2 separate regions of the Homo sapiens genome follow, and region 2 is linked to region 1. Evidence: promoter capture Hi-C in human tissues and cell types (Jung and others, 2019). All regions are on one chromosome and are shown on one strand. The core of a region is centred on a gene start or on the middle of the fragment in contact, and the rest is flanking DNA. Distances in the headings are between cores, read along the strand shown.

What was found. The method cuts DNA at HindIII sites, captures the fragments that hold promoters and counts their contacts. A contact is called where the count stands out against the background at its distance.
Region 2: a contact is called between a fragment that was not itself captured here and the fragment with the promoter of RNF222 in region 1, in 1 of the 25 tissues and cell types used here (lymphoblastoid cells).

Annotation. Positions count from the first base shown.
Region 1 is chr17:8,392,886-8,399,181 of GRCh38, forward strand. It overlaps RNF222 (ring finger protein 222), which reads right to left and starts at 4,942. Exons shown (of 3, transcript NM_001146684.3): 1 at 4,810-4,942; 2 at 1,293-1,444; 3 at 1-601. The coding sequence starts at 576. The HindIII fragment of the contact is 8,302 bases long and covers 1,829-6,296 here.
Region 2 is chr17:8,697,248-8,703,934 of GRCh38, forward strand. All of the region lies in intron 2 of LOC105371525 (a long non-coding RNA gene), which reads left to right. Among named protein-coding and RNA genes, the nearest start is that of CCDC42, 44 kb to the right of the region's middle. RefSeq lists enhancers at 1-323, 144-438. The HindIII fragment of the contact is 7,889 bases long and covers 1-6,413 here.

The DNA of each region.
Region 1 (6,296 bases), core at 3,692-6,191:
CCGCGATCGGCAGCAGAAGGCGCGGGCGGAGCGGGGCGCCAGGGAGGCCTCCGAGAGCTCTGCCAGGCTGCGGCGGGGCAGCACGCTGTCCTGCTCCCCCAGGGGCATCCCGTGGCGGCTGATGACAAAGATCTGTGACTCCCGGGGCAGGCTGGGCAGCAGGTCCAGGGGGAGCTGGGCGCTCTGGCCCGGGCTGCCTGGCGGCCTGGCCTGGCCTGGAGGTGGCCTCCAGGCAGGGGAGGAGGCGGCCAGGGGGTTTGTGTGGCCCAGGCTGTCCAGTGGGGGCACGGAGGGCAGGCCCACGGGCACAGCCAGCGTCTGGGAGCTCTTGTCCAGCATGGAGGGCCAGCGGGAGCTCTTCTTGCTGAGGAATGTGACGTAGCGGCAGATGGGGCAGACCAGGGTCCTCTGGACCTGCCCATCCACGCGGGTGGACAGCAGGTACTTGACCAGGCAGTCATGGCAGAACACATGGCCACAGCTCAGCGTCCGGCTGGCGCCCTCCAGGTCCCGGAACTTCTCATAGCACACGGGGCACTCACTGCCCGAGCTGTCCTTGCTCTCCCCTTCTGACATGGCCACTGGGAGATGGCACGCTCAGCTGTGGACGGGAAGGGTTGTGAATATTGGGGCATTTCCTCTTTCCCTCCCCCGTCCTAACTCCCACCTACACCTCTGCCTCCACTGCCCCTTATCCCCTCTCCCTGTCTTCTGCCTCCTCTCTCTTCCTCCTACTCTTGGCTCTTCTGCTGCTCCTCCTCTATGGCCCACCTGACTCAAACCTAGAACCCAGACCCTTAGGAGGAGAGGAGCAGATGCTTCTGGAAGGGAGAATCGGGAGACAGAGAACCAGAGAACCCAGTCACACTGGACCCCAGGAGGAGGTGTGTGGAGTTCCTGATGTCTCACCTCAATCATCATGTACACACATGGTGAGGTCACTGCCTCACCTCTTCCTGCTTCAGTGACGGAAGTGAAGAAAGGAAGTCCCTGTTACCAGGGGAAGCAGGTGGCTAAGAAGATGCATGCACAGCCCCAGTCCAGTCTCCAATTTGGACCTGCACCCAGAGTGGCCATTTTCCAGAAAAGCCCGTGCTAGTCTCAACCTCTGCCCTCACCTGGGGTTGGCGGGTCCATTGGATTTCCTCCAGCCATTGGATTGCATTCCTCTGTGCTAAGTGTGGCTATAAAGCAATGACTGTTTAAAAAAACAAAGCTTAGAACTTACACATTCAAATGCCTGCTGGCCCTCCACATAGTCACGTCAGGGAGCTTTAGGTTCATTCCCTCACCTGCCACAGCTCAGTCATTCTCCAAATTCTTCTTATGGGGCTGCCTGAGGCAGTGAGAGAAGCATCTGATTAACCGTGATGGAGACAGAATTTCATCCTTTGAGAATATGTCTGATACTTTGGAAATGCCCAGAAGTCACTGGTAGCCAAGTCTGATAGGAAAGTAAATGAGTGATCAAGTGGCATGATATTGTTTGAAATCAAAGCTATGGAGTAGCAAGATATAAAGTAACAAGATATATAAAGTAACAAGATGGTTTGTTTTTTTTTTTTTTTTTGAGAGGGAGTTTTGCTCTGTCGCCCAGTCAGGAGTGCAGTGGCGCAACCTCAGCTCACTGCAACTTCCACCTCCTGGGTTCAAGAGATTCTCCTGTCTCAGCCTCCCAAATAGCTGGCATTACAGGTGCATGCCACCACCCATGGCTAATTTTTGTAATTTTAGTAGAGACAGAGTTTCACCATGTTGGCCAGGCTGGTCTTGAACTCCTGACCTCCGGTGATCCGCCCGCCTCGGCTGGCCTCCCAAAGTGCTGGGATTACAGACGCAAGCCAAGGCGCTGGCCACAAGATGGGTTTTAAACAGAATCTGAGAGCAGATTTGTTTGATTAACTACATGGCTTCCCAAGTCGATGGCTTTGAAGGGAAACATCCACTGGGGTGTGTGGTGAGGTCCAAGTGTCCGCACTGAAAAGTTCCCAGTGTCACAACTGTGTAGCCTAAACTTATCTGGAACAGCTTCTTTAAAAAGAACCATGATTCCTTGTTATTGCTGCTTTCTTCCATCCATGACAGAGACAAAAGACCCCTGGACACACTGATAAAATAGAGTTGCATGGCAGCCCCCAGACCTGAGAGATGACATAGTGGGAACAAAATCAATGTGTAGGAAGGACAACTGTTAAGATCACAAATCTTTCAGAATCCCTCCCTCTCTTGGCTTGGCTCCAAATCTATTTTGCCGAGTTGAAAATGTCCCATAGTCAAAGAGCAAAAATATTTGGAGGTGGGATAAGGAATCTGGGATCCTGGAGGAGGCCCCCAAACCTCTTTGGGAGTTTCTAGCTTTGGTCTTTGAGATGGTCAATGTGGCCCCCAGGATGGGGGATGGGGGTTCAAATCTTTGATCTACCCATTACTGTCTGTATAAGCTTAGCCAAGTTGTTTAACCTCTCTGAGTCTCAGTTTCCTGTCCATAAGATGAAATTGATAATAATGGTATCATCTTCCTCGGAGAGTTGTTGGGGGAATTAAGTGAGCTAATGTGAGTGAAGAGTCTGGCTCAGAGTAAGTGCTCAGTAAATGGCAGTTGTCATTATTAAGACAGACCATGTCCTGTCCCCTCTTCTCCCAAAGGGGACTTGGAGACCCCTGTCACAGCTCTTGAGGCAGCCACAGCATTTGCCTTCCTTTCCTTCCCTCTCATCCCCAAATGTTCCTTAGTATGTGGATGATTAAAAAATCGCACCCACTTGACAGAGGGCAGCTCACCTCAAATTAGAATAACGGAACAAGATGACAATGGATAAGATAAGTGATGGGCAATGGATAATAATTTAAATGGTTATTCCAATCTTTCTTGGTAGTTATTTCATAACACATTTGCAAATGTTTATACCAAACAGCCATTATAATCAGGATGGGCATGATTTTCTTAAGCCAATCAACTATTAATATGTTTCCCTGCATTTCATAACTCCCCAGAGTGTATGATGGCAAGAGTTCCATCCTTCTATCCATCCATCCATCTGTCTAATTATTCGACACATATTTATTGAGCACCTGCTATGTGCTAGGTACTGACTTACATATTGGGGATAAGTAGTGGCCAAGGAAGTTCTTATAAAACTTTAGAGCCTAGTGGACATTTATAAGTTTTCTTGAAAAAGATATTTTTTTGAAAGGAGTATTGATGATCAATGGTTTAAGTTGTTTGGATAACTGAGAAGTAGAGACCAAGGCTGACAAGAAGAGCAAATAAGGAATACTAGAGGGAAAAAGGACTTTAGAGATCACTTAGTTGAAGCTCCTAGTTTCAGAGATGAGCAGATCCATGTCTAGAGAGAGGGAAGTGAGTCACCTGAGGTGACCGGTGAAGGTGACGGAGAGGGAGTTAACCGAGACAGAGAAGATTCCGTAGATGGTAGAACATTGTTAGAATCAGCTGATAGATTGGGTGAGTAGGTATTAGCCAAGTTAGAAAGCACCGTCCTCCTTGAGACGAGCAGGGAAGGAGAAGGAGAGCCTCTACTTTTCATCCGAGTTAGAGGAAAAGTAAAAAGGACCCAGGGAGTGCAGAAGACATCCGAGGCCCCAATGATGGCCTCTCTGGGCAATCCTTCTCCCTTCCAACAATGGCCTCTCTGGGCAATCCTTCCCTCTTACAACGATGGCCTCTCCGGACAATCCTTCCCCCTTCCAATGATGGCCTCTCTGGACAGTCCTTCCCGCTTCCAACGATGGCCTCTCTGGGCAATCCTTCCCCCGTCCCGTGCTTCCGGAGAGCCACGCCGTCAACACCTGGACGATGCTACCTCCTTCCCCACCTTCTTGCCTCCCTTTCTCAGTCTTTCCCTGACCCCTCCCTCTGCCTCTCTCGCTTTCTGAATCCCATTCCATTCCCCATCCTTGAGTTCCTCTTATGGTATGATTCTGTTTGGATGCTGGGGTGAGGGAGAGGGCAACAGAAGAAATGCAAGGAACATACTCTAGTTTGAGCACAAACGAGTTGAAGAAGAATGCAGTAAGTGCCAAAGCATCCCTGTTGGTGCCTTAGGAAACTGAGGGGAGAGGAGGGCTGGAAAGTATTCCTAGGTGAAGTGGGACCAGTATTGAGCTAATAATAAATAATTATTATTATTTACAACAGCGACCATTTATTGAATCCTAATTATATGCTTGGCATTTTGCATCCCTTCCTCTTCTGATCCTGACAACAAGGCTGGGGCGTAGGGATTATCTTCATTTTACAGATAAGGGACCTGAGGCTCAGAGCTTAAGACTTTGTCTTCAGACTTTGGTCAAAGGAATAGAAGAAATAGCACTGTTAGAAAAGTGACTACCCAAAGTTCCTTCCTCTTTAGGTTTAGAGTGACCCTAAACAAGGATGCCCCTCTGGCCACCTGGGAGGCAGGGGGAAGGCAATGGCTGGCCCAAGGGAGCTGACCTTGGGAAGCCCCAGTACTGAGCCTCCCCCACAGCAGTAGCCCATCTCCGGAACAGAGTGTGGGGGCAGGTGTCCCCACCCCAGAGAAAACACCCCCCATCCCCACCTCAGCACAGGAGCCAGTGGGACAGAATGATACTTCCAGGCACCTGGGATTCCCTCCTGGAGCCCCAGTGCAAGGTCCTATAGCTTTAGCTGTGACTAGTTGCTCACCCACAGGTATCTCTTTCTCTCTCTCTCTCAATTTCTCTCTCTCTCATTCTCCTGCATCCTTCCAATGTTGGCAACCTTCCAACATTGCCAAGCTCCTTCCCCACGCCCATCCAGGCCCCTAGACTCACTTTAGCTGGGACCGGAGAGAGCAGCATCCACCTTCCCTCCTGGGGCCTCCAGCAGATCTGAGCCACCCCGAGGTGCTGAGCAGCAGCACGATCTCCTCCTGTTGCTGTTAGTGTGACCGCCACCGCCGAGGCAATTCCTAATGACAGAGCAGGTCGGGAGGACAGCGCGAGGAAGTGAATGTCGCCCAACCCGTTTGAGGCCAGGAGGCTTTGGCGTTGCCCAGGGGGTTGGCAGCTGCTGGAGTCAGGTGATCTTGCTGAGGATGCCAGGAGAGGAACCCCCAGCTTGAGGAGGAGCCCAGGGGTGGGTGCTCAGGAGAGTCAGAGGGTCTCACAGTGGAGGCAGTGACCCAGGACCCCTTTGACTGAGGCTCCCCAGGCATGGGTCTCCCTATCAATAGGAAAGTCACCCACACTGTCCTTCCCACCCTCCTGGACCCATTTCTGTGATCCCCATCTTCCCCCCACACCCCTATCCTCACACCATGCACAGGGTGAAGGGGTCAGTAGTAGATCAGCCTCGGGAAGTCTATGACACTCAGAGTCATATATTTGTGGGATCTGCCTGTGTGCATTTGTCATTCATGGAACACCCAAAGGCGCTTAGAACTCCAAAGACCCAGCACCACTGGCATAAAGAACGAGGCGAGTAAGACCAGTGAAGCAGGAATGCACACAGATATGGAAAGAAGTCCCCGGCATCATGATAAATGGAAGCAACTTTCAGAACAGCCTGTGTAATACAATTCTATTTATGAAGATAATAATACATGATCATATTCATAGAGGAAAAGCTGGAAGAAAACACATCAGACTGTTAATAGCAGTTATCTCTGGAGAGACTTTCTAAGTTTTATATTTCTGTGATGTTTGCATTTTCACCCTGAATGTATGTTTCTTTTGTGATTAGAGAAAAAGTCATCCACTGGGTATGGTGGCTCATGCCTGTAATCTCAGCACTTTGGGAGGTTGAGGCGGGCAGACTGCTTGAGGCCAGGAGTTCGAGACCAGCCTTGCCAACATGGTGAAACCCTGTTGCTACTAAAAATACAAAAATTAGCTGGGCAAGGTGGTGCAAGCCTGTAGTCTCAGCTACTCGGGAGGCTGAGGCACAAGAATTGCTTGAATCCAGAAGGTGGAGGTTGCAGTGAGTGAGCCAAGATTGCACCACTGCACTCCAGCCTGGATGACAGAGTGAGACTGTCTCAAAGAAAAAGAAAAAGTCATCAAGAATAATGGAGGAATGAAGTTCGGGGAACTGGAAATCATTTTGGAGGATTCCCTCCCAGTCCTCTCAGGAGGTCCCCAAGAAACCAGTTTTCTTCTGAAAAAGTAAGTTACTGGGTCCAAGGCACAGCCCAGCATGTGTGTGACCCCATAGGATGACACAGGATGACCCCTCTTCTGTCCGATCAGTCATGGCCCTGGCTTAATGGACACCTTGAAGCTGGTGGGGAGGACAGTCAGGCCAGTGCACTCGGCCACTTCACCATGGACAG
Region 2 (6,687 bases), core at 1,219-3,718, 300 kb after region 1:
TCTCTACCCCCACATTCCTTCTGGGATTTTTTTTCGTTCCCTTGGTTATAGAAGAATAGCAATTAGCAAATTCAGTAAAAAGGGCCAGAAATGGAGATTGTTTGTGAATTGGGGGCCAAGATGCATGAGTGAAGGAATGTGACCAGAACTATATATAACCCCTCCCTTGGCCCACCCACCTGTCCAGCGGAGTGAGCGATGGTCTGTTTGTTCTGGGCTGGTATGTAGCTCATTTCACTCTAGGAGCCCACCATCTGGACCTGGGCCTCGCTGCCAGTAGCTCTCGGTGACCATATATGGCAAAATGATATATGTGATAAAAAGAAGTCAAATTCCCCAATTGCGTCAGCCCCTGGAGCATGCAGCCTGCCTGGCTCGAGCCCCTTCCAGCCTCTCTCCCAGCCTTCTGCCCCGCAACTTTGCTCCGGAAACCAAAGGGGCTCAGAGATTGACTGGGGGAGCAGGGAGCTGGGGGCGGGGCTGCCATCCCTTCACCCGTTCACCCCAACGTTTGTTTGGGGTGGGGAGGATAATTAGCGAGGGCCTGAGCTGCCAATGTATTTGCCTCTGGCCTTAAACCAGGAAGATTAGAAACTAAGTGATAACTCACATTCTTTCCAGAAAGCAGCCTAGTGTGGCGCCAGTATGTATGTGGGTAGGAGGTGGGGGGCATAGTCCCACTGGGGTTCTGTCCACCCCCAATCCCAAAGATCACATGGCCCCCAACATCCCTTAAATTCCCTTGAACCTTAACCTGCCAGGAAAAATGTTCAGTCCACATAGCTTATCTGGGGGAACAAAATAGAATAAAATTTACACACACACACACACACACACACACACACACAATTTTTCTCTCCCCAAACTTTCTTTCTTCCTTTCTTCTGCTCTGCCTTGTCCCCAGCATCCACACCTGATGCATGGCTGCGTGCACCACCCTGCAAGGGAGCTCCCACTCTGGGCCAGACATTGTGCAGGAGGCCAGAGGAAGGTGACAGTATAGAGCAGATCCTGGCTCTCACGCAGCGTGTCCTGGATGAGGCAATGGACTGCTGCCATACGGGGCATCCAGCCAGACACAAGGGCTCAAGGAAGCTTCTGGGAGGAGGCGACACTTGAGCTGAATCTTAAAGAACAAGCAGTAGTTAGCCTAATGATGGATGGGGATTAGAACCGGAAACCCCGGGCTGAGGAGAGAAAGCGGGGGAGAGAGACCAGATGGGGCTGAGTGCCTCCAGGTGTGGAGAGACGTGAGGCTGGAGGTAAACAGGGGCCAGAGCATGGAGCCTTTTTCTAGGAGATGTTAAAGGGACTGGGTCTCTGTCACCATCTCCCACTCCCAGCTCCCAGCCTTCTATCTCACAGCTCAGTCCACCACCGCGGAGCATGGGTCAGGTCAGGCACGTGTGCACGCGCGCGCGCGCGCACACACACACACGAATATGCCCGGAAATGTATACTCAATGCCACATCACATAAGCAAGGACATTTAGCAAAAGGGAAGAAAAGAAGAAAAATGATGTTCAAATGAGAACCAGGGAGAGACGGCAGGCCTGGGGGAGGGCACTCAGCCAGGAAGGGGAGAGGAGGAGTGGAAGTGGGAAGTGCGTGGGCGGGAGAGCCAGGAGGCTGTTGATGGAAAGGGAGCTGGAGAATGCTCTGGGCTCTCCGCAAGGGGAAGACACAGACAGCAGCGGAGACAGCTGGTCAGCAGAGGTGGTGGGAGTGGGGGGCGAAGCACAGAGTCTAGAGCCCAGCCTCCCCCATCCAAGGCTCAGCTCGGATGTGTGTCCCCTCACGCCTCGCCCGCGGGAACTGTGGCTCCTCCTTTAGCTGACCACAGTGGTGGGCATTGGCTGCAGGAGGTCCCTGAGAAAGCCCTCCAGTGTGGTCCAGGAGGGAGATAGGGCCTGGGGATCTGTCTGATGCTCCGCTTTAGTGTGGATACATTGATCAGATGTGTTCCCTGGCATCCTGGAGGGTTCGAAAGCCTGTTCTGAAGGGTGAGTGTCCTTCATGGCACATGCCTCAGAGACCTGTGTTCCCTGTGCATTCAGAGGGGAGGATCATATTTTAGGACTCAGCCGAGGCTTTGCTTCCACCTCCTTGGCTCCTCAGGGCTAGGCCAGGGACGTGCCTGTGTATTCGTTTGGAAATCCCAATGCAATGCAGTGGGACATGCTTAGGGCAAGTGAAGGGCAGGTGCACTGTCTTTTATGACCCACCCTTGGCAGCCGCACAGTCACTTCCGTTGTATTCTGTTCAGAGCTACTGTGATACCATCAGGGAGGAGACTATGCAAGGGCACCAGTTCCAGGAGGTGAGGGTCTTTAAGGCCATCTTGGAGATTGGCCACTGCAGTCACTAAATTTTGGGGTAATTTGTCATGCAGCCATAGATGACTAATACAGGCAGAGATGTCCTTGATGGGGTGCTTGGCCCAGGGTGGCAGGCAGGTAAGGTGGGGCAGGACTTGACTCTGGGTCTCTTAGATAAGATTCTTTTCACTACAAGAGATTTAAACTTCTATTTTATTTATTTTATTATTTATTTATTTATTTATTTATTTATTTATTTATTGAGAAGAAGTTTTGCTCTTGTTGCCCAGGCTGGAGTGCAGTGGCGCGATCTTGGCTCACTGCAACCTCTGCCTCCTGGGTTCAAGTGATTCTCCTGCTTCAGCCTCCCGAGTAGCTGGGATTACAGGTGTCTGCCCTCACGCCCAGCTAATTTTTTTATTTTTAGTAGAGACAGAGTTTCACCATGTTGGCCAGGCTGGTCTTGGACTCCTGACCTCTGGTGATCGTCCCACCTTGGTCTCCCAAAGTGCTGGGATTACAGGTGTGAGCCACCATGCCTGGCCAAAAAAATTCATTTTAAACTGAAGTATAGAAAGAAATGTATGGGCCCACATAACAGAAAAGACCAGAATCAGTGCTGGTTTTGAGTAGCTGAAACTAAGATGTTAGAGAAAGTATGTGACTCGTAGTCAAATGGGACACATGGAGCACATAGGAGTGTTTGGAGGAGAGGTCAGCAGCAGCTAGAGTGATGGGCAGTGGAGATTCCTTTGTGTATGTGCTCAATTTCTACACCAAAAAAGAAAAGAACAGCAACAGCAAACAAACAGTGGAGATGCTTCTATGTGTGTGTGTGGGGGGGGTCAATTTGTTGGTTTCTTTCGCTTTCTTTGTATAGGATTCAGCACAGGCACGTGCCTATCTCAGCACCTTCACAGCAGAGAGCGAATCTCTGCATCCAGTTACCCCAGAGACACATCTGGACACCTCCCCGCAACAAAGCCCCCAAGACCTTCCAGAAGAGGAGCTGTGTCCAAGAGCCCCCTTCCTGTTATGGGAAGTGCACTATCTTCTGACCCTCATATCTGTTGCCTCTATTTGTTGCTCTCTCATAAACCAATCCAAATGGAGGGCATCTGTATTGCCAAAGGGATTGGTCACTCAGCTTCGTCGGATGCAAGAAAAGATTCTGAGGGTAGGGACGGGCATCGGTCTTGCTGACTGCCCTCTCTGCAGCTGTCAGGACTGGGCTTAGCATGTAGTAGGTGGCCCATAAATATTTGTTGAATGAACACATATCGTCGGGAAAAAGGAGGTTGTTGTAAGGACACGCAGAAGAACCAGAACTGGAACTGGAAGTCAGAGCGGAAGTGGCCCCAGGGACCAGTGAGTCTCAGCCTGTCTCTCAGGGGCTGTGTCTTTTCTCACTACGCACCTGCTAAGATGTGGCACTTGCCATGGCCTCCCCATTCCACCTCATGGCATTCTTCACTGTCAACTTTCAGCCTCCAGCTTCCAGGAGCCTTATACTATGGGTGACTCGCTTCTCTTCTATATTTAACCGCTTCCTCCAAACCAGACCCTTCCCATCAACATTTAAACATTTCAGGTCTCTCCCACTGAAAGAACAAACCAACCAACCCTCTCCAACACAAGACCTTCTCCAGTTACTGCCTTCCTTCCCTTCACGACCAGCTTCTGGAAAGGTTTTTCCACATTCCCCATTTTCGTCTCTTCCCCTCACTCAGTTCTTGCTCATTCCATTCTGGGTTCCTCTCCATCACTCCATTGACGTAAGTCTTGCTGCGGTGCCAGTGACATCCTAGTTGTTCCAGTCCTCACCTTGCATGACCCACAATCACACTAGACACAGATGGTCAAGTTTCTCATTGAACTCACCAGATGTTTCGCCTCTTTCTCTCTGTTGCCCCGTTTCAGCCTCCTTCGCCAGCTCAGGTCCACTGCCAGGCTGGTGGGGTTCCTCAAGCGCTGGCCCAGGGCCCCCTTGCTGTCCACGCTGTACTTTCTCAGTGGGCAGTTGTCTGTGTTCCTTTCTTTCTTTCTGAGACAGGGTCTCACTCTGTCACTCAGGCTGGAGTGCAGTGGTGCAATCTCAGCTCACTGCAGCCTCCGCCTCCCAGGCTCAAGCGATCCTCCCACCTCAGTCTCCTGAGTAGCTGGGACAACAGGTGCATGCCACCACACCGGGCTACTTTTTGTATTTTTTGTAGAGACAGGGTTTCACCATGTGCCTGGGCTGTGTGTTAGTTATTTAGGCTCTTCTGTTACTATATATACATTTGTGACCCTTGTGATAACAGCTCTTCCTTCTCCTCTGCTTCCAAGAACATGTTAGGACTTCCTCACCTCCTTGGGACATGGTTATGAAGATGAGAGTAAATGACACGTCACTTCCGGACAGAATCTTTCAGAGTCAACTTGCAATTCACGATGTCCCTGTCTCTGCCTTAATCATAGTGGAAGCACCTGCTGAGATGGAAGTTTCCTCAGCCTGGTCTCTGAGGGTCTATGATGAGCAGTCTTCCCTAGTATCCGCTTTGGAGAAATAGATCTTAACTGAATTAAGATACTGAGGTTTGGCATTATTTATTTATGTATCTATTTATTTACTTGTAACATCTTTGTTAGATTTTGGTATCTGGTTATTGCTAGCCTCCTCAAACAAACTGAGAAGAGTTCTTTCCTGCTCTATTTTCTGAAAGAATTTGCTTAAGATTTGTGTAACTTCTTTCTCAAATGTTTGATAGAATTCACCAGGGAAACTATCTGGGCTAGGAGCTTCCTTCCTCTTTCTTTCTTCTTTGTCTCTCTTTCTGTCTTTTCTTTCTTTTCAAAAGCTCTACTTATATAGCATTGACATTTAAAAATTGTACATATTTAAGCTGTACAACTTGATTTAACTCTAAACAATAGTTTTATTTAAATAATATTTTTTATTATACTTTAAGTTCTGGGATATATGTGCAGAATGTGCAGGTTTGTTACATAGGTATACATAGGTTTGTTACATATGTGCCATGGAGGTTTGCTGCACCCATCAACCTGTCATCTACATTAGGTATTTCTCCTCATGCTATCACTCCCCTAGCCCCCCATCCCCCAACTTGATGTTTTGATATAGATTGTGAAATGATCACAACACAGCCAATTAAATATCTACCTCTTCTACATAGTTACCCTTTGTGTGTACGTTGAAAAGATTTACGATCTATCATCTTCTGAAGTTTTCTTTGTGGGAAATGTTCTGATAATGAATTCAATTTCTTTAATAGATGGAACTATTTAGATTTTGGATTTCATTTTGTAATCTTATCAAGCCATTTTGCCCGTCTCAGTTGCCAAATTTATTGGCATAAAGTTGTTCATAATATTTTCTTATTACCTTTTAATGCCTGTGGGCTCTGTGGTGATATTGATGCAGGATTTTTTTCGGCCCCTTTGCCGAACTTGTGGCAGGGGCGCCCCATCTATTTGGCTCACTGCGCTCAGCCCCTTGAGGGAGGGAGCATGTGAGAGAGTGAGTGCAGGATCTGGCTCGCTGCAGGATCTGGCTTGCCACAGGAGCAAGCTCTGTTTGGGGGGCCTGTGGCCAGACCAGGTGTGTCACCTTGAGGGGAACAGTGACACCCAGGTGAGGTTGCCCATGACCCCGAGGCCCCAAAGGGGGTGTGTTATAGTAGTCTTTTAGTTCCACTGTCCATGGTCTGATGGACAGTGGTGTGTTAGCAGCTTAGTTGGCCCCTTGCCTCGTCATGTGGGGTAGCTGCCCTCCGCTGCTGAGGGCAAAGGGCCATTGTGACAGCCTTTTCTGGGTACCTGCACTTGGTGGGTCCTGAGGTCTTATCCAGCATCCAGGAAGAAACTCTTCCATCACCTGCATGACCTCATTCTGCCTGGATGCTGGACAAGAGCTTGGGACCCAATGAGTGGGTGAAGACAGAGCATTTTATTGAGTGACGGAAACAGCTCTCAGTGGAGAGGGGAGCTGGAGAGGGGATGGGAAGGGAAGGTTGTCTTCCCCAAAGTCAGGTTGTCTCTTCCTCGAAGTCAGGCCATCTCCCCTTCTACTGACTGAGTCTTTATAGGCACAGGATGGGGAGTGTGTGCTGATTGGTTTGTGAGTATGCAAAGAAGGTTAAAATTAAGAGATCACTCAAAGGTGGGCATGACAGTGTAGAAAACCAATTAGGAAAGGGTAGGTATATGTAAAATAGGTGAAAGGTGGGGATCAATCAGAGGAAGGCACACCAAACAGGAGGACAAATTCTTAATCCAGTCCAAGGATTTAACTTGTAGTTTGGCTTTCAGGCTTTAAACTGTCTTTGGTTTGGAGGTGGGGCTTCACCAGGGACCTGCTCCTGTCTGC